Linked DNA regions of Homo sapiens: region 1 is linked to region 2. The links are contacts of gene promoters, found by promoter capture Hi-C in blood cells and fetal thymus (Javierre and others, 2016). All regions are on one chromosome and are shown on one strand. The core of a region is centred on a gene start or on the middle of the fragment in contact, and the rest is flanking DNA. Distances in the headings are between cores, read along the strand shown.

What was found. Contacts are between HindIII fragments. The CHiCAGO score rates a contact against its expected background, and 5 or more counts as called.
Region 1: a contact is called between a fragment that was not itself captured here and the fragment with the promoter of CRYBG2 in region 2, in 1 of 17 cell types (endothelial precursors). The highest score is 5.1, in endothelial precursors.

The regions. Positions count from the first base shown.
Region 1 is chr1:26,102,048-26,104,747 of GRCh38, forward strand. No RefSeq gene overlaps it. Among named protein-coding and RNA genes, the nearest start is that of PDIK1L, 8.4 kb to the right of the region's middle. The HindIII fragment of the contact is 872 bases long and covers 901-1,772 here.
Region 2 is chr1:26,352,667-26,355,664 of GRCh38, forward strand. It overlaps CRYBG2 (crystallin beta-gamma domain containing 2), which reads right to left and starts at 1,464. Exons shown (of 20, transcript NM_001039775.4): 1 at 1,370-1,464. The HindIII fragment of the contact is 7,544 bases long and covers 1-2,998 here.

The DNA.
Region 1 (2,700 bases), core at 87-2,586, 250 kb before region 2:
TTAAATTGACAAAAATTGTATTTATTTACTCATATGTACAACATGATGCTTTGAAATATGAATACATTGTGGAATGGCTAAATTTAAGGCCCAGTGTAAATGCTACCTCCTCTCTAAAGCTTTCCTGCCCGCCATTCCCCTCCACAGAAGCACAGTTTGGATTTCCTCCCCTGGGCTATGTAACCTCAGCTGGCACTGGTTGAATTGTACTGTCTGCATATTTATATGTCTGTCTCCCCTCCCAGAGAAAGTCCATGAGGGCAGGGACCTTATCTTTCTGTTCACTGCTTTTTCTCAGCATCAAGCACAATTTCTTGCACGTGGTGGATATTCACCAAATAGCTGTTGACTTAACGAACAAAGTGCCACCATGTGCCAGGCACTAGTTGACTTCTGAAGAGAGGGGTATATGTCAAGACATTTGTTAGCCACCCACCAGCCTCTGAATTTAAGCCTGCCAGTAAGCCCCATCCTTCAGGACACAGAGCTTGGTCAAGGAGGGGCCCACAACCCTATCTCTTACCCCCTACTCCCTAGCCCCTAGCCAATCAGGTCCAACAAGACTTAATTTCAGGAATGTTGTTTGAGGAATAGAGAAGTTGACTTTCTCATTCCTGCAGGATATGATCTCATAAGGCTGAATTCCCACTGGTGACCCCGAGGCCCACAAGGGAAGCCAGCCTTAAGATGAAGGCAGCATCATGGGAGGCAGAACAGAGGAAACTAGAGTCTTTGGTGACATGTGAGCTGCTGAATCAAACTTCCTTCCCGAAGCTAGCCCTCCCACCTCCATTTCTCTTAGGTAAATGTACCAATCATTCCTTTCAGTCACTTTGAGTTGAGTTTCTGCTCTTGCAACATGAAGCATCCAGAAGAGGCCAGAGAATCAGAGGAAGCCGAAGCTTTAACACTTCAGGACCTGCTGAGGAGTCGGGTGAATCCTCAGTTTGGGACACTCCCAACACCCCCATCCAGCATGGTTTTCAGATGGTGGCATCCCCAGCAGCTCTTGGACCCAGGGGCAGGAGATGTGAACCTGGGTCTTAACCATCAGCTGCTCCAGCTGTTCTCAGTCCTCACCAAGAAGACAACTAGGACCCATCCAAAGACAAAAACAGCTAATGTTATACCTGGTGCAAGACCTTTGTGGGCCCCCAGATCACTTGTCTCAGGGGCTGGATCAGAAATAAACATTTTGATCTTCTTATTACAAGCATAGTGGAGGTGTAGGATTCAAGAATCAGAGTGTTGGAGCTATAAGGATCCTTAGAGATGAGCTGGTCAGACCCCCTCATTTTGCAGATGGGGAGACTGAGGCCCACAGCAGGGGGGAGTCTTTCTTGCTCAAGATGACACAGCGTGTTAGTGCCAAAGCTAATACCCTTCCTAAAGGAGTTTCTCCCTCAGCCTCCCCCTGCAGAAATGGGGCTGGGGTGGCTGGGCACAGTGGCTCACGCCTATAATCCCAACACTTTGGGAGGCCGAGGTGGGTGGATCACCTGAGGTCAGGAGTTCGAGACCAGCCTGGCCAATATGGCAAAACCCCATCTCTATCAAAAATACAAAAATTAGCCAGGCATGGTGGCGCATGCCTATGATCCTAGCTACGCAGGAGGCTCAGGCAGGAGAATCGCTTGAACCCAGGAGGCAGAGGTTGCAGTGAGCCAAGATTGTGCCATTGCACTCGAGCCTAGGCAACAGAGCAAGACTCCATCTCAAAAAAAAAAAAAAAAAAGAAAAGAAAAGAAAAGAAATGGGGCTGGGGCTCCCCAAGCTTGGGAAGAAGAAGGGAGGGGACACTGTCGGGGATTCTCTCTGCTACAGCAGTTAGGAGCTGCTCCGGAAACATTCACTGACAGGCCTAGCCAGTCGCCCTTAATGACCTCATTGTGGCATTTTGATAACAACTTGTGGTTGGCTCAGTGGGTACTAGGTCTCTAACAATGCATCAATGATGCCTCTCATAATTTCTCCAGAGGAGAAATTCAGGGTCAGCAATCTGGTGGGAAGAAAGACTCCAAGATGTGCCTTGGGGACAGGGTGTATATGGGAAGTCTGTAATTTCCACTCAACTTCACTGTGAACCTAAAACTTCTCTAAAAATAAAGTCTTTTAAAACACACACACACACAACCGGGCATGGTGGCTCATGCCTGAAATCCCAGCACTTTGGGAGGCCAAGGCGGGCAGATCACTTAAAGCCAGGGGTTCAAGGCTAGCCTGGCCAACATGGTGAAACCCCATCTCTACTAAAAATACAAAAATGAGCCAGGAGTGGTGGCATGCGCCTGTATTCCAGCTACTCGGGCGCCTGTAATTCCAGCTACTCAGGGGGCTGAGGTGGGAGAATCGCTTGAACCCAGGAGGCGGAGGTTGCAGTAAGCCAAGATTGTGCCACTGCACTCCAGCCTGGGGGACAGAGCGAGACTCCATCTCAAACACACACACACACACACACACACACACACACACACACACGCAGTTAGACCCCAATTGAAGTGCCTGTGTGACTTTGGACAAGTTCTTTCACCTCTTAGAACCTTTGTTTCCTCAGTTGTAAAAGGGAGGACAATAATAGCACATGCTTTACAGGGTCACTGTGCAGATTAGATGAGATCACTCTATAAACAGTACTTTGCACAGTGCCTCGCACAGAAGTTAGTATGAATATTACCTATTATTTATTTATATTACCGATTT
Region 2 (2,998 bases), core at 214-2,713:
CCACCTGAGTCTGTCATTATCCACCTGGGCCCAAAATACCCAGGTAGTGGCAGATAGAAACCACCTCCCCCCAGCTAACCCTACTTCTCTTTCCCGTCCCCCTCTCCAAGGTAGCCTCCTCCACCCCCCTTCCCTCTCTCTGCAGCCCTTGTCCCCCAGCCCCTGACTTCTGGGGCATCCAAGCAGGTCTCAGAGCCAGCCTGGGTCCTACATCTCCCTCTTCCTTGGCACGGAAGCAGTCACATTGACCCCTGCTTGGAGGACCCCAGCATTCCTGATTCTGCCTCTGCTACTACAATGCTGCCCAATCCACCGCCATAGGAGCCTAGAAAACCCTGGAGCCCACACAGCAACCTCACTCAACCCTCCACTCTCTGCACAGGGCCAAAGAGGTTTCTTCCAGGCAGGATGGAGCAGTGGTTAGAGCACAGGCACTGGAGTTATAGAAACCTAAGTTCAGATTCTAGCCCCTTCACTTTCTAGTTGACTTTGAGCAAGTGACTTTCAGAGCCTCCTAGAATTAGGTGACAGGGGTTGGGATCAGTCCCTACTCATGGGATGGTTGGGAAGATTAAATAAAATTATGCTTAGAAAACAAATTGCAAATGACAGCCACCCCATCATCCTTAAGCACCCTTCAAAACCCCACCCCAGGCTCATTTCCTCTTCAGGGTCATCCCTGGGAGGTTCCATGTTCATCCCTCCTTGATGAGCTTTGGGGGACATATCCTTCCACCTCTGCGCCCCCCAGGCAGATTTAGGAGAGTCATTTCAACACAAATAAAACTAGGCTTGGGAAACTCGACACCCACTCCTTTGGCTTCCAGCTCAGAGCCAGGTGGGGTAATTATTGCTGTCACTGAGACGTAATTAATAAGCATCCCTGCTATTTTGGCACCCCCAGTCTCTGGAGTTCAAAGTATATTCCTGTAGCCACCTCCTCCTTCCTCATTTTCAGCTACCAAATCCTCTCAACAACTCAAGGCCCAGAGAGGTTAAGCAACTCGCCTCAGGACACCCAGCACCTAGGCTGGGTGCCAATTCCCAGGCTGAGTCTGTGGCCTCCTGAACAGAACTGGGGAGTGGTGTATGCTGTGAAGAAGGCAACCCCCCTTCCTGCCCATCCTCTCCCTGACAGACTTTCCCCTTTCTCAGATGGACAGTGGGGGTGAGAAGCAGTGGGTTCCAGGAGGTAGCCTGTGGGCAAAGGGAGGGAGAGGAAGGCAGGGTTGGAGCAGGGAGGGAAGGCAGAGTCGGCTCAGGGTCCTGAATGAATGGGCCTAGAGCTGGAGAGGCCCAGGGAATAGGCAAAGTCTCAAGACAGGGCAGCCAGGCCAGTCTCCCCTCCCATCTCCACACACAGACCGACCTCTACTCACAGTCTGCGTGGGGACCCAGGTGTCCAGCCAGCCTGGAGCTCCTGCTGCTGGGCCGTGCTCCCCTGATGCGATTGGGCTCTCAGCTGGGGTTCCTGAGGCGGGGCCGTCCGGCACCCTGTGATGGGGCGTGGCCCCTGGGGAGGCTCCCACCAGCCCTCAGATTCCTCAGGGCCGCAGAGGTGTGGAGCTGGTTGGGCCGGTTCTTCACCCTCCTCCCCTGGTGCTTGCCTGTGCCCCAGCAGGGTGACAGTGATGTAGTAGCGGGTCCTCCTGGAAGAGGGACGCGTGTGTAGGGTCTGGGCAGGCTCTGGCAAGGCAGTCCCTGGGGTGGCGGGCTTGCCCTTTGTCCCCTCTGCCCTGGGGAAGGATGCAGGGTGGAGCAGCAGGGGTGCGTCTTCCAGGTTGCTGGGTGGCTCAGGCCTCAGAGGGACCTCTGAAGCTGTGGGTGGAGACTGCTGACAGGTGCAGCCTGAGGATCCCTGCTCCCCATGTCCAGGAGCAGGCCCTGGGTATTGGGGGAGCCTGGTACGAGCAGACTCTCCTGAGGCCACTTCCAGGGCCAGGCTCTCAGGCCCCAGGGAGGCATGGCTGGCCAGGTCGAAGGCGCTGCCCACCGCTGGCCTCTGTAGGCGCCCCAGGGACTGAGCAGGACCCCCCGAGATTCCTTGTTGCTTCCAAATCCAGAAATCATCATGGTCCCCTACATGGATGTCCCATTCTGAGCAGCTCTGGCCTTGGGCCTGGGTGAAAACAGAGATAGACACTGAGAGAGGCAGGGGCATAGTGACAGCTCCCCCTGCCCTCCAGGCACCCCTGGTACCTGGTATCTTCCCTGTCACAAGGAAGCTGAACAGGGCTCTGACACCAAGGTAAGCTGCCCTAGGGAGAGGCTGCTAAGGCCACCAGAGCTGGACAAAGGGACAGAGCTCTGGGAAGGCCCTTCAGCATTTAACTCACCCCTTCCCATTCTACGTAAGAGGAAAGTGGGGCCCAAAGAAGACGGCGACATGACTGAGATCACACAGCAAGCCAGCGAGGGCTCCCAACGCTCAGGTGCCGCACTCCCTCCCAGGTGACAAGGCACCCAGGGCCTGGCCGGCCATGCCCCCCAAAGGCTGGAGATCTCAGCTTCCTTGCAGTCCTGAGGTGCTTCCCCGCCCTGGGGCTGAGGGCTGGGTGGGAAGGCCTGCCTCAAGTGCCCATGGCCTCTGCCCATTCCAAGCTAACAGAGAGACTGCGGCCACCTCTCTTGTACCCTCCCAGCTTGAGACAGAACACCTGGGAGGATGTACCTGGGATATAAGGGAGCCAGAGAAGAGGGTTCCCCTGAAATGGGACAACACCTGACCTCTTCTGCTGTCTTCCCCTGGGGTCCAGCCTGGCTGTGGGGATAAGAGGAGAGGGCTCAGCACCCCAGACCCAGATGGACACTGCCCCCAAAACGACCCGTTTTAAAAGATGGGCTGTTTCCTTGGCAACAGAGGAGGTCAAAATTCCGCCTAGCAGGGATCCTTGCTGCCAAATGCCTTAATTTACTCATCTATGAAACAGATGCAGCCTCTCATTCCCCAGGGGCTGACCACCTCAAGAGACAAGAGTACAGTGATGAACCTGGAGGC